Regions from separate parts of the Homo sapiens genome. Here regions 1, 3, 4, 5 and 6 are each linked to region 2. Evidence: promoter capture Hi-C in 16 types of primary human blood cells and fetal thymus (Javierre and others, 2016). All regions are on one chromosome and are shown on one strand. Each heading gives the region's core, a stretch centred on a gene start or on the middle of the fragment in contact. The rest is flanking DNA. Distances are from core to core; before and after follow the strand shown.

Region 1 (2,700 bases), core at 129-2,628, 170 kb before region 2:
CACACCAGACATGCACACCACACACAGACATGCACACCACACACATATACCACACACACCACATACACACACACACCCCACACACACACACACACACCCCACTTACTTCCTGAATCCAGAAAAGAAACACTGGACTAGACAGCTGGCTGGGGGTTAGAGACCAGGGGGACAACCTGGTGCCTGCAGAAGGACACATGAGACAATCCCTTCTCCAGCCCTGCCAGGACACCGTCGGCCATGGCACACCTCTCGTTGTTCATGGGAGGCCATATAAAACCTCATTGATAGAGTGGCTGACAACTACCCTTTCAAGAACTGCAAGATGACCGTGAGGAGGCTCATCCCTCCACCAGAAATACAGCTTCATAGACCACTATGCCAAAAGGAGGCCAAAGCCCTGGGTTCTACCACCAGCGTGAGGAGGGCTGGGCACTCGCCCCTCCCATGGCTTATATGAAAACCCCACACGTGCATGCCCGCAGCATTTCTAAGGCCGAAAATGCAAGTCACCTCCCCAGCCCAACCCCCTGCCCTCCGAGATTCCCTGCCCCTCCCACCACCTCCCCATCGTAAACCACGCACATGTTCACGATCCCTGGAGCCATACAGAAGTGGGGAAAGGAAAAGGGAAGGGAAGCTAACTGGTGTGTATACGGGGTGGCGAGGGAGAACCTGCCCTAGTTCGCAAAATAAATCCAGGAAATCCAGTGCCACAGAGAGGTAGGATTGGTGGAGCACACTTCTTCAAGACCCGAAAGAAAGGCAGGCCCAGGCAGCCATTCACGTCCCCATCTAGTGTGATGGGAATGGTGACAACCAAGGACCAGTGACAGGAGCTGAGCATTTGAGCCACGGGGTTAAAACTGTCCAATCTAGCTCTCCCAGCCAGGGCTCCAAAGCCGGTAGCTTTTCACCAGCTCTCGTCCGAAACCCTAACTACTACTACTGTCTTCTACACCGCAGAAGACAACACCCATGTGATTTTAATGACTGGCCACTGTTCCACCAGAGTATATGGCAACCAAGATACCCAGACTCTTCCTTCTCTAAGATGTGAGCAGCCATTAATGACCCCTGTATGGATGCTTCATTTATCCTTATCCTACATGGGATCCCTCAGGGGATGGTGGTGTCTTTGGACCAAATTCAATCTACTGAGTGTTTTTCTAACAGCTTAAAATGAGGTTGAAAAAAACTTCCACCTTCTCGGCAACCCAACACACAGAACATCTGGTGGGGTTATTATACTTGCTCCTGAAAGAAGGTTTTGAGAGTACAGACAGGAACCCAGAAATAAGGCTCTGAACCAGTGTGGATTCACTCGCAGTCAGAGGGAAGGGTGGTGATTGGTACCCCTAGCCAAACAGCAAGCTGGTAAGAGTGCGAAAGTCCAATCTGGGCTTTGATCCTTGGTTTACTGACTTCTTCTAAAGAAGAGATTTTTCATTCTGCCTCTTAATCTAAAAAGAAGCAGAGCTGGAGACATTAAAGAGAGAAGAATGGCTGGTCAAGCCAAGAGTTTCAGGTGAAACTCTTTTGCCCTCCCACCTCCACCACAGACTAGTGACTTTAGCCTATCAAAAGAAGAGAAAGTAAAGAGAAGGCCTCACGAAGCCACTGTGCAACTTCATGGCCGGAAGGAAGCCTCTCTACCTCAAGAGGAAAGGGGGATGAAGGCACGTCAGGCTCCAGCTCCCCCTCTCTATCACCATCACCATCACCAAGGCCCATGAACATTTTCAGATTGTGGACGGAGAGGCAACCCACCGCTGCAGCTTAGGAAAATGAGAATGGCACTTCCTTCTCCACTGATGAAGAGCTGGTGATAGGATGGGCATCTCAAGACAAGTTTCTCAGCTTTGGGCCTGAGGAGCCCCCAAAACAAATGAAGTTGAAATACAATATAAAGAAGATGTCCATGTTTGGTTTGGGCACTTAGTGTTAGAGGCTAATTCTAGAAGAAGCAAGGAAGATCTAGCTAAGAAGCAAGACCTCTCCCAAGATCCAGTCTGCGTTCACATGCAGGACCCCACCCCACAATCCGTCCCTGATGCCCAGATCCCCCTCCCACATGCCCTGCATGGCTACCACTCCCCAGCCAGATGCCCACCAGGCAATCATTCTTCGTCATCTTGGGATGATCCCCCAGTGTGTACCCTGCACCCTTACAAGTAACTAAGTTATCACATGACTCAAAGAGATGCTGAGGCTTGGTGTCCCCTGGGGTGGTCTCACCATCCTAACCCATGCCTGACCTCACCCTCTGTGCCCCTTCCAGCCTCACCAACACCTGGCAAAGCACACAGGCCTCCCCTCCACCCTCCAGTTCTCCAACTCCCCCTCCTGAAACACCAGTGCCCCATCCATTACCCTAGTCAATCTAGAGCTGGCCAATAAGGCACCTCTTTGGCCCTCTCCCTAAAGCAACACACACAGCCACATGGGGCTCTACACACTGCCTACTAGATCCACTTTATATGAAGAAGATACCCAGGCAGGGCTGGGTTAGAAGCCCCGGTGGGAATGTGCACAGCTCCTAGAGTACCACAGAGGCTGGACTCAACAGAGCCTTCCATGACCCGCTCAGCTCCACCCTCTGCCCCTTCCTGCAGCTCCCCAGCCATCCCTGCAGTGCCCCCAAAGCTCCTTTACATGCAAGCAAAGCAAGCCCAAGATTAACCATTAGCTTTTCTTTTCCTA
Region 2 (2,700 bases), core at 46-2,545:
TAAGACGAATTTTCTTCTTTTTAATTTCTCGATTTTGTGCTTGATAAAGGGAAAGAGGCCACCATTATAAAACAACTTTTACACACTTTTACTTGTGATTTAGTGCATGGTGACCTGGAACATAAAGAAGATTTATGAAAGGAAAGACAGAATCATAGTAGGTAATTGAGTTATTTTTTAATTTTTATTCTGTCTTTATAAGATTTTTGAGAAGGTAATCAATTAACATAAAGATCTGAGCAGTTATAAAGATTTACAAAGAAGATTATACAGTGATGGAAACTGAAGCATATTCTTGGCAACAATCTCAATCTATTTCACGTTTCCCGGCTTTTACATATATAAATTTGGTATACATAATATGTAAATATACTTCTATTTTGCATGAAAACTAAAAATACTAAAAAAGTAGCATGAGTATATGAAAAAGTTAAACATTAAAAATATTAGTTGGAAACTGGCTTATTTTACTAACAATTATATTCAGAATTCTGTTGCTAGACTGCTGTTTCTGGGAACATTGGAGGTGTACTTTCTATACTTGCTAAAATACAAGCTTTTCAAGTATTTTCCATAGTATTAAGTGAGACTTTAAATACTCTTGCTTTTTTAGATCTAATTTCTGCTTTAATTTATCCTTCTCTTCATTTTTCCTGTTTGTCCTCATCTTACCTGTTCTTCCCTGGTTTTACTATCTCCCAGTATTCAGAAATCAGAGCAAATAATTAGTCTGCTTTTCTGCAGAATAAACTATTGGGTATGCCATCATGCTTTTGATCTACCACATAAACAAATTATTTTAGCAAGACATCACTTTTATATGCTGTATAATGTATGTATTGCTTATGTTTTAAGCAGATTTCAGCTCTTTTCCTTCCATCAATTTGGAATTGGGGGCCCAAAAGATGTGAAGGCGATAATGCTTCCAAGATAACTGGGCTGCATCCTTATTTGTAAAATAAGAAATACTTTATTTCCCAAATTTTAAAGGAGTGTTCCTTCTCCGACCTGTTGTGATGGATTTATTCTATAGCTATGGAAATATACCCTGCTTCACTCTTGTACATACTTCTTTACTCTCCTCCCGCCAAGTTCATTGAAAGAGAACCCATGTGCCGGTCCAGAGCATCGCTGCATCCGTAAGCAGCTAGACCTCAGCTTCCTCTGTCACCATGGTGCCGGCTCGGCTGGGCCCGGCGGTCGCCATGGTAACTGGGGCGGGTCGCAGGGTCCTGGCAGGCTGGGCGCATGCGCGCGGGGACTACAAGCCGCGCCGCGCTGCCGCTGGCCCCTCAGCAACCCTCGACATGGCGCTGAGGCGGCCACCGCGACTCCGGCTCTGCGCTCGGCTGCCTGACTTCTTCCTGCTGCTGCTTTTCAGGGGTGAGTTTGCGCGTTTCCGCTGTTGGGAGACTAGGGTCTGGGGGCGACGGAAGCAGAGCGGGCCGAAGCTGCTGGAGCCGGTCCGGGCGAGGATAGCGGTCCTGGCTCCGAGGGCTCCCGGGGTCCCGGGCCGGAGGGGCGGCGCGCGCCCGCGTCCCCGCAGCCAGGGCTGGGACTCGGGCCTGGCTAGGGCGGGGGCCCTGGGACGCCCGGCAGTTGGACCGGGGCGGGGAGCTAATTTGGGATGGGGGGCCCGTCCCAGGCAGTGAGTCGGTCCCGGACAGCCGTCGGACCCCGGGGGCGGGCTCTTCTCGGGCGGGGTCCTGTGCTGGGCGGTGGGCTCATCCCCCGGGTGGGCTCCTCCCAGGCGGGGTCCTGTGCTGGGCGGTGGGCTCATCCCCCGGGTGGGCTCCTCCCAGGCGGGGTCCTGTGCTGGGCGGTGGGCTCGTCCCCGGGGTGGACCCCTCCCGGGCGGTGGGCACGGCCCTCTGGAGGGAGCGCGGCAGCTGCGGCGTGGGCGCTGGAACTTGCTGGAAGACCCTGCGCAGCAGTGCTGTGCTCTCCAGAAGGGACGGTGAGCGGGGGACGTAGCTGAGGACCGGCGAGGCAGAGCTCCGAGGCCTGGCGGGCTGCTTGGTCACAGCCCTCTGGGGATCTGCAGTTCATTTGACTCGACACAAAGGAACTGCTTTTCTTTTACAGAAATAAAATGGATATCAATCCAGTACCTTTTTTGTCTCTGGCCTGGCCGAGGAGACCACGCAGACTCTTATCCGGAAATAGCATTCGGGGCATTTGATCAAGACACACTAATAAACTTGATAGTTTTGTGCATTTTCTTTCCCTCTGTTTGGAATTCTCATTAGATCCACATTTTCCTGGACAGTTGTACAGAGGACTAAAATAGCTTTCCTTTAGTGAGCTTGTACTGTCTACTAGGCACTTTGGAGCCATTATCTCGTTTACTCCTTTCAGCAGCTCTGTGAGATAGGTTTCATTAATCCATTTTCAGAGTCAAGTCTAGTCTGCTTTCCAAGGCTGCATTCTAAGTAGTGAAGCCTCAACTTCATATTTACCTAAAGCAGGACACCACACTCTTCCCCTGGCAGCCATCCGCAGGTAACCAGACCAGGACCTTTTTCGGTTCTTAGATTATTTTATTGTTTGAATTGCCACTGTCATCCCATGATGTTTTCCAGAATATACAAATTAAAACACGGAGGGACTGTTTAGGAGTGAAGGTGGACAGATTTTGGAAAACAAAGCATTCCTGTGTTTGGTGCTTTATGCTAATGGGATGCTCGTGATGGGCTGTGA
Region 3 (2,700 bases), core at 79-2,578, 140 kb after region 2:
ACATGAAGACTATTGCGACTGGCATATGAGAAACTCTCATGGAAAAAACGAAACGATCGTGTTTTCACTTAAAACATTTTAGTTACTTAATGTTTTAAAAAGTCCTTAGTGAGAGACATTTGCTCAGTCACAAGATGACGTCATACACACCCCATGTCTCCAACTACCCTGCACACTGTGCACACCCAAGGCATGCACACACTTGCACATGCACACCATGTCTCGGCACCACCTCCACACTGCACGCCAAAAATCAGTGAAGGAGGGAAGGAAAAGCCAACAACGCAGCAAACATGTCCTTGCCAGTGAAACTAAGGCATGAGAGTTTTTAAGTGAAGCTGAGTGACCCATGAGAGGAAAAGTAGTCTAACACTTATTGCTACGGAGGTAAAAAGCAACTCAATCCTTTCCTTCAAGTCATTTCTACAGAGGGAAAGGAATAGAAAAGTGCAAAGAAACAAGAAGAAAGTGGCAAAGAACAAAAGCAAAGAGCTGCAAAGTAGAGAGCAACAGAAAAGGGAAAGAGGTGAACTGGCTGCAATGAAGCAGACAAGGGAAAGGAGGAGAGGCCACCATCCTCTCTCTGAGGCTGACCCACATATTGAGCGCAAACAAGCTGGAGGCTGGCGCTGGCCCGTGTTCTGCAGATTCCTATCTCTTTAACAGTGCCCCAGCTGGGAGCCTACCAACAGAGACCCAGACACATAAAGCACATTAGCTACGAAGTGCTTGGTTTTCACCCCCAAAACCACCATCAGGCCAGAAATTTTAAGTCTACATGTATCAGAAATCTTAGTGCAGGGCCCAGAGTACTGAGGGAGACTGACAGGGTGAAAATTCACGATTTGTGTGCTTCACCTGATAAACTGGACCGCCTGGTTTCTACAGTTGATGACTTGGGAGGTAACAGCAAGGGGGGCACGATGGGATCCTTCACCAACTTCTAACATTAATATTACACTGAGCATTTGATGGAAAACACAACTGATGACCTAGAAGAGAAAAGAAAATTCAATTTAAGATCGGATGGAGAACACAAGGGTCTCAGACATAGTGATGCAGACTGTAGTAAACCATTTCAAGCCATCTGAAGGTAGGTCAGGCTGGCATAATTGCTGGCTGAACACTAGGGATATATTTCTTAAACAATGAGCAGGGATACAATAAATGCACAATGTAAACAGTGTGAAAGAATGGCTGACAGATGATATGTCTGATAAAAACAATACCTAGTTTCTCTCCCCACCCTTTGCATATCATAACCCAGAATTTAGGACAAATAGGGAATTAACTGTCATTTACATAGGGCAAAGAATGCTACTAATGTTCCCTTATTCAAAAGGGGAAAGAACGATACTTTACACCTGCTTTTTGCCTCCAGTTTACAAAGCACTTTCCAACATATTATCTCATATAACATAGTCACTAATTAATTTATTCATCCAATAAATAAAACATTTACTGAAAACCAAGTAAGTGGTAGGTATTGCATTAAGCACTTTCATCTACATAGCTAGATTTTACTATATATATATAAAATATACATTTAATTTTAAACCTTACAACAATTCCATAATGTAAGCAGGACATGTATAATTTCCACTTCACAGATAATTAAAAAAAGCTCCAAAGGTGAGCTGTCCAAGATCAAATAATTAAAAATAAGGCTAAAAACCAACATTGCCTGACATCAAGTCAGTACTTTCACAATTAAAAAAAAATACCGACTGGGCGCAGTGGCTCACGCCTGTAATTCCAGCACTTTGGGAAACCAAGGAGGGTGGATCACGAGGTCAAGAGATCAAGACCATCCTGGCCAACATGGTGAAACCCCATCTCTAAAAATACAAAAATTAGCTGGGCATGGTGGCGCGCACCTGTAGTCCCAGCCACTAGGGGGTGCTGAGGCAGGAGAATCACTTGAACCTGGGAGGCTGAGGTTGCAGTGAGCCGAGATCATGCCACTGCACTCCAGCCTGGTGTCAGAGCGAGACTGCGTCTCAAAAAAAAAAAAAAAAAAAAAAAAACCATCTTTAGAGACACAGTAGACCTAAAGGGATGAATTTTCCCACCTATGTTATTGTTTAAAATATTTAAAAGGGCATGCGAATTAAAAACATTACTGTAAATGTTATCACATTCATATTTCAAGCACACAGAAGTGATAAAGATACTAAACTTATAAAATACCGAATGTTTCTAAACAACAGGCATTGTGCTCGGTAGGCGGCCTGCTCAACTTCATTTAATCCTGTGACAAATCGATAAAGAAGGTAGACTTTGGTCCTTTTTGTCCATAAGTGAAATCTAACGCTTTAGCCAGGGTGAATGGCTCATTCAAGGACCCACAGCTAGTAAGTGGTGAAGTCAGAAAGCAAACACAGATGTGCGGAACCCCCCAAGCATCCCCAAAAATATCTTCGTAACCAGGTTACTGCCTCTGCAAGGTAACGCGTCGCAGATACCAAAAGCCACATGACCTTGGTCCAACACATTTTTTTGCAAAATCTTATTGTTTCATTTAAGACATCTAAGTTTAGTAACAGCATCATGCGCAACTAACTCTAACTGCAAAGTTTCTAGTAGTAGTGGCGTTCAGGTAACCTGGAGGCAAAACCCAGGTATCCATGCTGACCACGGGTGACAACCTACAAAATTTCCATAGCATATCAACACAAATAATACAACTACCAATAGAAA
Region 4 (2,700 bases), core at 132-2,631, 160 kb after region 2:
ATCTCTTTAGGGCCCAGACCTCTCGTGAGAACAGCCTTGGATTTTTGTTTTAATTTATGCAAGAGGAAACCAAACTTTCTGGCAAATAGGAAGCATCGCTGTGTCTGCCCCTTTGCCCCACAGTGTTTGCAGAAGTATTGCAGATGGCTTATAAAGGATAGATTAAAAAGGCCAGGCCAGCCCTGCTGTGACTGCACACTGGCCACTCTTCCATGACATTTGATGTCAGAGCTGATATTAACATGTGTGCAGGAGGAAAGGCACTAGGGAGAACGTGATGCTATGCAGGGAATGACTTCTCCTGCTCCAGGTGCCCTGCTGGGGCAGGCCGAACCTTCTGCACTGTTGCTAGGCTCCACAATGCTGGCAGCCTGAGCGCTCTCTGTGCCTTCTCTGTTTTGTTTATTCCTGATGTTGCCTTTGGGCTGTGTGATCGCATTTCTGTATTTTTCCATCCTTTTCTTCTCCTCTTCCTCTTGACTCTGGACCATTGATTCTGGACACTGGGGCCTTGCTCTGCCTGCTTCTGTCCCCTGAAACTATGGCCAGAATCTAGTGCTTAGAAACTGAGGTACCAGGTTCCCAAGTCAAGGTTTCGGCTTCCACACGAAAGCCAACACCATCGACCAGGACTCATGCAACAAGAGTAAGCCGAGGAGTCCCTGTCCCCGGGGCTGGCCGCGGCTCCGCTTCTGCCTGTCATATACTTCTGACTTTTATTGGGGGGGCACAATTACTGGATTGCTCACTTTCCACCCATAATTTGGAGCTGCCACCTCCCACTCTGAGGCTTTGTGGATTATCACTCACTAACCAGAATGCTGCCTACTATTGAAACCACTGAGTGTTTGGAAAGGAAGGTCATTGTTTGTAATAAAAGATTGTGGCTGATTGTAGTTACACGGGAAATCAGCCACAAGCCACAGCCACACAATACACTGTGAATTCATACAGAAGTGGCATCACTAGTGTGGGATCCCAGAGACTCCAGTCTGTGGACTCGCCTCTTCCTCCCCAAGCAGCAAACAACAGAGGCAATGAGTGTGCTCCGCCTGCTCTGTGTTCCCAATTCATCTGCCCCGCTGCAAGTTGCAGTCTAGCACGGGACTTGAACACAGAATCCTTGAGGGGTGGTGGCTTGAACTGTAATGTGGCCATGCATAGCCACAGTCAGTATTAAGAGCTTACCTCGGCCGGGCACGGTGGCTCGCGCCTGTAATCCCAGCACTTTGGGAGGCCAAGGCGGTTAGATCACGAGGTCAGGAGATCGAGACCATCCTGGCTAACATGGTGAAACCCCATCTCTACTAAAAATACAAAAACAATTAGCTGGGCGTGGTGGCAGATGCCTGTAGTCTCAGCTTCTTGGGAGGCTGAGGCAGAAGAATTGCTTGAACCCAGGAGGCGGAGGTTGCAGTGAGTCGAGATCACACTACTGCACTCCAGCCTGGGCGACAGAGCGAGACTCTGTCTCAAAAAACAAACAAAAAAAGCTCACTTGTGCAGGGCCAGGTTCTAGGAAGCACCAGGGAGCTGGGGATGTGGGCCTTATCTTTAAAGGGCCTGCAGTCCACAGTGGGAGCGGGGGAGACCAGGTATGTAGCAAAACTTATACTTAAATAGAATATAAGCAAACATAAAATAATATAGGACAAATGGGTGGCATGAACTTATCATCAAAAAATACCAGAACTATTTCCTGAAGAGGATAAATTTAGAGCAATGCTTCTTAAAGCGTGGAAGTGTGGTAGCAGCCGTCCTGGGGAGCTTATCAGAAGGGCCAGTTCTCAGGCCCCATCCCAGACTCCTGAATCAGAAACACTAGGGTGGAGTCCAGCCATCTGTGTGTTAACCAGCTCTCTCAGTGACTCTGGTGCACACTAAAGTTCGACACCCCCTGATTTCAGTGGAGGGAATAACATGAAAATGTCCATGTTCGATTGGCCACATGCCTTCCTTTTGGAGTAATAACAGCAGCTACTAACGATGTTTTTGAGTATTTGCTGTGTACTAGATACTGTTCTAAGTCTTTTACCTACATCACCCCTGCTACTTCACACAGAGCCTTGTGAAGTAGGTTGTGTCATGACCTGCATTATACCAGCTGATAGAAATAGACGCAGTCTAGAAGGAGACCTGCTCTAGTCTCAGCTCTGCAGCCAGCTCTGCGACTCCAGGCCAGTCAGTTAAGCATGCTGTGCCTGGGTTTCCATCGTCTTTTAAACGGGGTGATAAGACCTGTCTTAGCTGTGTCAGAAGATTATTATTATAAGGATGATATGATTAAATAGCTATATCCTTTCGGAAGTTGGAAGTGTTAAATGCTGTTTAAAGAAGTGTGGCATTTCTTATATTGGCTCCCATGACTTACCCTTATTAAAAGATGGTGTCCGAGTGTCTTGGAGCAGGATTATTTTGGGTTCCTTTTCTGCCACGGGATTTCACTATATAAGACAGAAAAGCCTTTGGAGAAGAAGGAGGGAGTGAAAGAGCAGAGGTCAAGAAAACAAGGCTAGAAGGGGTCTGTTCTGCAGGGAGGTCCTTCCAGAAAGCAGTCCCTCCAGCCTACAGCCTCCAGCCCCCTACTCGGCCCGGTGTAGCTCAGGGTCTGATAAAGGAGGGCGTCGCATCGCTGTCTCTCACCAGAACTCTACTACGATCGCGGGAACCACCATGAGTTTGTGTCCCTGGTGAAGGACC
Region 5 (2,700 bases), core at 10-2,509, 210 kb after region 2:
ATGTGGACCTCCCTAGGGCCTTCGTCCTGATGGCCGCAGAGATCGGGCTGTGGGTGATTCTGCGTCCAGGCCGCTACATCTGCAGTGAGATGGACCTCGGGGGCTTGCCCAGGTAAGCGGGGCTACAGTCCCAGAGTCGTGGTTCTAGTGAAGTATTTGCTTTAAAAAAAGTGAATTTCAAGCTAGTAACAAGGAAAGTAACCTTTATTCACGGAGCCGATGGGAGGTGTGCTGCCCCACGCCACGCACCGTGCCTGTGTTGTCTTGTGGGAAGCCTGCGGTACTGCGGTGGCGGGGGGCGGGGTGCAGTTGTCATCCCCGATTCACAGATGAGAAGCTCCAGACGTTGGTCCTGGGGCCTTGGGCATGCGGTCAAGAGGGTGTGCGCGGGGAGAGGTGGCCACAAGAGGCTCCCACTCTTCTTTCCCCATGCAGGAGGGGCTGTAGCCTCCTCTGTCCTTCTCAAAATGCCCTGGGAAGAAAGGGACCAGAAGCTTTAAGGCCTGCAAGGGAAGGTTCTGACGACTCGGCTTGTTTTGAAAACTTCTGATCTTTCGCTTATTTTGTGAGGGGAAGGCTTGCCTTTCCATGCAGTGAGACCACCCTCAGCTCCCCTCCCTTCCCTCTTGCTTTTCTTTGCCTTGTTCTCTCCTCTGTGATTCTGGCCCCCAGCCCAGACTGCTGAGGGTCAGGGTGAGACTCCAAGACTCCTCTCTGCCACCCCTGTGGTGGGCAGGGCTTCCTGGGGAATCTGGGGCTCTGCCTCCAGTGAGCACCTCTGCACCTCAGAGTCAGATGAGGCCTTTGCTTTTCTCCAGGATGAAGAGAGAGGTCTTTGCTTTTCTCCAGGGGCAGAGAAAGCCTGAGCTGAGGGGAGTGGAGTTTTCGGGAAGCAGTGACTCCCGGCATAGCTTGGCTGGAGGCCTGCCTGGCACTTCCCCAGTGACCTGGAGTGGGTGGAGTATCATTGGCACGTAGGCTCCTGCCCTGAGCCTGAAGCCTTAGCCCTTAGTGGAAATGTGACACTGTGCCTAAGGAAATTTTTTCTGTCCCCAAGAATTTTTTTTTTTTAAGACGGAGTCTTGCTCTCGTCACCCAGGCTGGAGTCCAGTGGCGCGATCTCGGCTTGCTGCAACCTCTGCCTCCCGGGTTCAAGCGATTCTCCTGCCTCAGCCTCCTGAGTAGCTGGGATTACAGGCGCCCGCCACCACACCCGGCTAATTTCTGTACTTTTAGTGGAGACGGGAGTTTCGCCACGTTGGCCAGGCTGGTCTCGAACTCCTGACCTCAGGTGATCTGCCCACCTCGGCCTCCCAAAGTGCTGGGATTATAGGCATGAATCACCGCGCCTGACCAAAAAATGTTTTCAATAAACTGAAAAAGAATAGAGAGTGTTCACCAAAAGGTAGAAGAAAAAGCTCTTTAAGACATGGCTGTAAGAGCCTTGACAGGCCAGCCCCTCAGTCAGACCAAATAGAGCTGAAGGCCTTTCCGAAGTTGTGAAGTGCCTTGGAGGTGGAGGCGGCCGTTTCCTTTCAAATCCCACAAGTCTGTGAGAATGGTCTGAAAGTCTCACGCGGCACAGATCTTTCCAGGACCCGAGTGCTCCGGGACCGGGGGTGTGAGGCAGCTGGGCAGATGTGCGGCGAGCCGGGGCAGCTCTGAGCCCACTCCTGCTTCCCTCTCCCAACCCGTCTCAGACCCTGAGCCCGCCCCTCTTGCCCCCAGCTGGCTCCTGCAAGACCCCCGGTTACTGTTGAGGACAACCAACAAGAGCTTCATTGAAGCAGTTGAGAAGTATTTTGACCACCTGATTCCCAGAGTGATTCCTCTCCAGGTAAAGCCAAATTGTCCCCTGCATCTTTCTTACGTGCCCTTTAGGGAAAGAGTTTGTTCTGGCTTGATCACTGAAGAGGCCACATGCAGTCTCCATGAACAATTGAGTTGACTTTCTTGTAACCTTGAGTTCTGGACCCTTGGCTTGAGGACAGAAGCACTGACCTGTCCTGTCCTTGTTGTCCGGGTAAGCTTCCCCAGGGTTGCTAGAAAGACTCATCACACAAGGCAGGGACTGGTTGTCCACATGAACTTACTATTCCTCAAGCTTGCCAATCTTCCCATTGCTTCTTTCCACTTTTGACATGGCAAAAAGACTCAGAAGGTACAAATGAATTTTTGGTCAGATAAAAATCTCACCTTCCACCCTGTCCCAAAGCCATTTAGTTGCCCTTTCAGGAGACAACCAATTTTACTAGATTTTGTGTCTCTTTTTAGAGATTTTATCAGCACAGAAGCAAATTATACACACGTGTCTATGCCTCTCAGGCATTTTTCTTTTGTTACTTGAAATACGTAGATTTGAAACCAGCCACTCTTTTTAGTGCCTGCACACTGTTCCCTAGTAGGGATGTATCATAATTCATTTAACAGGTATTCAGTCCAGGCTTGGTGACTCATGCCTATAATCCCAGCATTTTGGGAGGCCGAGGCAGGGGGGTCACCTGAGGTCAGGAGTTCGAGATCAGCCTGACCAACATGGGAAACTCCATCTCTACTAAAAATACAAAAAAATTAGCTGGGCATGGTGGCACATGCCTGTAACCCCAGCTACTCAGCTGGCTGAGACAAGAGAATCACTTGAACCTGGGAGGCAGAGATTACAGTGAGACAAGATCATGCCGCCACACTCCAGCCTGGGCA
Region 6 (2,700 bases), core at 108-2,607, 190 kb after region 2:
TCTGCCTGCCTCGGCCTCCCATAGTGCTGGGATTACAGATGTGAGCCACCGCACCCGGCCCCTCTCACCCTTTTCCTCAATCCAAAGATGGAACTGCCAGTGATTTGAGGAAGTAATAGAAACTACTAATAGAAAGCACATATAACTCTGATTTTTAGAGGCTCGTGTAACCTAACTAGAAGTAGTACAAACGTGCTGGTGAGAAGTACCTCAGCCTGGTTATCTCTGGGTAGTCCTTATTCCAGGAATATGTTTTAATCCACCGTTTGCCTTTAAAGAGTCTTCCCAATTGTGACTCTCCCCTTCCCACTCTTCTGCTTTACTCCACTGCCCTGCCCTTTGTTCTCTTTCCCCTTCTCCCCCATTTTTTTTTCTTTTCCATCTTTATTTCTGTCATTGTCTTTTCTTCTTGGTGTACCTATCAGCATGTGTGCCTGGATGATTGATAGCTTCGGAAATGAGGAACAGAGGCACAAATTTTGCCCACCGCTCTGTACCATGGAGAAGTTTGCTTCCTACTGCCTCACTGAACCAGGTGAATTTGCCACACTGCACTGAGATATAGCAGGGAGAGATGCTTCCTGCTCAGATGGCATTACCGAGCACTCCTTCCAGCCTCTTGACATGTCGAGCCACTGTTTATCTAGCTGTTTGGTTGAGGAGTAATAGAGTCCTGTGACCTGATGTCACAAGGACCAAGAAGCCTATCTGGTGTGTTGGGAGGTAGGCAGTGGCCTGACTGGTATGAGCAGTTTCCACCAAGTACAGAGAGTTCCTTTGGCCACTTGGGTTTTGCAGTGACACACTCTGAGCAGGGTCTGTTTAGAGAAGATTTCCTAGAAGATAGAATTGTGCTGGGCTCCCTCGACCTCACTGACTTTCTCACCTTCTCTCTGCTGCCTTTTGATCCCTCCTCAGGAAGTGGGAGTGATGCTGCCTCTCTTCTGACCTCCGCTAAGAAACAGGGAGATCATTACATCCTCAATGGCTCCAAGGTACTAGCGTGCGTCCTCCCAGAGCACTTTGGAGATTGTTCCCAGCTTCCTCCTGACATCCTCTGGTTCCTTCACATCCGCGGGTTAATACTCCCATAGGATTTTTATGTGTTGGGAAGAGAACCTCTGACCCATTTCTCTTTCTTTATTCTCACTGTTTGTATCTCTCCTAATCTGATTCCAGATCATTTCGTTGACTTTTGTCTATCCTTTTTATACTCTCTTGGACTGCCTCTCTGATCTGCAGTCACTGCAGCGACCTTTTACCTCACCTCAGTCTCTGTGCCATTGGACCTTATTGTCAGTCTCTGTGCCATTGGACCTTATTGTCAGTCTCTGTGCCATTGGACCTTATTGTCAGTCTCTGTGCCATTGGACCTTATTGTCAGTCTCTGTGCCATTGGACCTTATTGTCAGTCTCTGTGCCATTGGACCTTATTGTCAGGAGGACCCAGTGGTGTTCCCAGACGCTGTGAGAACTCAAGCATTCCCTGGTCCTTTTGCACCCCTTTTACCCCCACAGGCCTTCATCAGTGGTGCTGGTGAGTCAGACATCTATGTGGTCATGTGCCGAACAGGAGGACCAGGCCCCAAGGGCATCTCATGCATAGTTGTTGAGAAGGGGACCCCTGGCCTCAGCTTTGGCAAGAAGGAGAAAAAGGTGAGTGGCTGTTGGACAGGAAACAATTCAGGTTATGAGACTCTGCCACCTGCCAGCCCAACTCCTGCTCTATTTCAGAAAACAGGTTTGCATACTTGCTAACCTACCTTTGAAGCAGTTGCTTCTATTAGGATTTTCAACAGGAGCATATGAAATACAACAGGGCATTATTAAACACTAGGCCTCTGGGGAAAGTGACAATGTTTGCCAGTAAATTCTTCAAGCCACCTGTGAGTGTTCTGACCTCTCCTGCCTCTGCTTTTGGCCTGTGTTCCTTATCCAGCTGCTTACGTTGGTGCACTTTGTTGCTCCAGGAAGAGACGCTTAGAGAAGACCTGGTGTTGGCCACAAGTCTCAGTAATGGAAGGCGTGTGGTCCCTTTTGCTTCTTTGATTAAAAATAAAGTAAAACTCATTGGAGATGATTGTGGGTATTTCAGCAACCCAAGAAGGACACTTAGGTACTGTAAGTAATTTGAAAAGTAAGATACTTCTAGGATTAAGAGCCGCCATGGCCAGGGCATGAACAGGAGACTTGTGATCATGTAACCGTAATTGGTAATAAGGGCTCAAGACCCATTCAGATTTTTTAGACCAGATGCTCAAAGCAGTCATCTCTCTCTAGTTTGTACTGTTATGGGGGGACTTTGTGAGAGAAGGCAGGTAATGAAATGACCCCTAAGTGTACCTCTTTCTCACAGCTCCTCGGGTTTCTGTATTTTCCTACAGGATCCTTCCTGATCCTCTGTAACTGTAAGGCATTATGCATTTTAGCATCCCCTTCTCTTTGGTAACACAGCAACCATTTCCTAGGCTTCTACTGTGTGTGAAGCCCATGCTAACTCCTGGGCAGGAAGACCTTCAGTAAAAGGCTTAGAAATGGAGTTTATCCTATCAACAAAAGAGAGCAAGGAAATGATGTAAAGGCAGTCTATTTTCAGAGCCAGAGAGGAACTGGGAGATTGTAGATAGTTTGTGGTTTTCAATTAGAGGCACTGAAATTGGGGGCAGTTGGTGTCACAATCCTAAAAGAAGTTGTGAGAAG

The links. Contacts are between HindIII fragments. The CHiCAGO score rates a contact against its expected background, and 5 or more counts as called.
Region 1: a contact is called between a fragment that was not itself captured here and the fragment with the promoter of JAM3 in region 2, in 1 of 17 cell types (non-activated CD4 T cells). The highest score is 6.9, in non-activated CD4 T cells.
Region 3: a contact is called between a fragment that was not itself captured here and the fragment with the promoter of JAM3 in region 2, in 7 of 17 cell types (naive CD8 T cells, naive B cells, fetal thymus and 4 more). The highest score is 7.8, in naive CD8 T cells.
Region 4: a fragment that was not itself captured here is called in contact with the fragment with the promoter of JAM3 in region 2 in 2 of 17 cell types (naive B cells and total B cells); the score reaches 6.2 in naive B cells.
Region 5: a fragment that was not itself captured here is called in contact with the fragment with the promoter of JAM3 in region 2 in 3 of 17 cell types (fetal thymus, naive B cells and total CD8 T cells); the score reaches 5.4 in fetal thymus.
Region 6: a contact is called between a fragment that was not itself captured here and the fragment with the promoter of JAM3 in region 2, in 1 of 17 cell types (total B cells). The highest score is 6.4, in total B cells.

The regions. Positions count from the first base shown.
Region 1 is chr11:133,902,491-133,905,190 of GRCh38, forward strand. It overlaps IGSF9B (immunoglobulin superfamily member 9B), which reads right to left. Exons shown (of 20, transcript NM_001277285.4): 20 at 1-2,700. Among named protein-coding and RNA genes, the nearest start is that of MIR4697, 5.3 kb to the left of the region's middle. The HindIII fragment of the contact is 7,551 bases long and covers 1-2,700 here.
Region 2 is chr11:134,067,777-134,070,476 of GRCh38, forward strand. JAM3 (junctional adhesion molecule 3) reads left to right here and starts at 1,296. Exons shown (of 9, transcript NM_032801.5): 1 at 1,296-1,383. The coding sequence starts at 1,308. RefSeq lists a silencer at 1,101-1,290. The HindIII fragment of the contact is 4,850 bases long and covers 555-2,700 here.
Region 3 is chr11:134,205,741-134,208,440 of GRCh38, forward strand. It overlaps NCAPD3 (non-SMC condensin II complex subunit D3), which reads right to left. Exons shown (of 35, transcript NM_015261.3): 8 at 859-992. Among named protein-coding and RNA genes, the nearest start is that of NCAPD3, 17 kb to the right of the region's middle. RefSeq lists a silencer at 1,785-1,844. The HindIII fragment of the contact is 8,331 bases long and covers 1-2,700 here.
Region 4 is chr11:134,232,251-134,234,950 of GRCh38, forward strand. VPS26B (VPS26 retromer complex component B) reads left to right here. Exons shown (of 6, transcript NM_052875.5): 2 at 2,647-2,700. Among named protein-coding and RNA genes, the nearest start is that of VPS26B, 8.9 kb to the left of the region's middle. The HindIII fragment of the contact is 6,943 bases long and covers 1-2,700 here.
Region 5 is chr11:134,282,009-134,284,708 of GRCh38, forward strand. GLB1L3 (galactosidase beta 1 like 3) reads left to right here. Exons shown (of 20, transcript NM_001080407.3): 5 at 17-112; 6 at 1,729-1,837. Among named protein-coding and RNA genes, the nearest start is that of GLB1L3, 7.0 kb to the left of the region's middle. The HindIII fragment of the contact is 1,534 bases long and covers 493-2,026 here.
Region 6 is chr11:134,258,090-134,260,789 of GRCh38, forward strand. ACAD8 (acyl-CoA dehydrogenase family member 8) reads left to right here. Exons shown (of 11, transcript NM_014384.3): 4 at 426-535; 5 at 919-995; 6 at 1,519-1,656. Among named protein-coding and RNA genes, the nearest start is that of ACAD8, 5.9 kb to the left of the region's middle. RefSeq lists a silencer at 2,492-2,541. The HindIII fragment of the contact is 4,357 bases long and covers 1-2,700 here.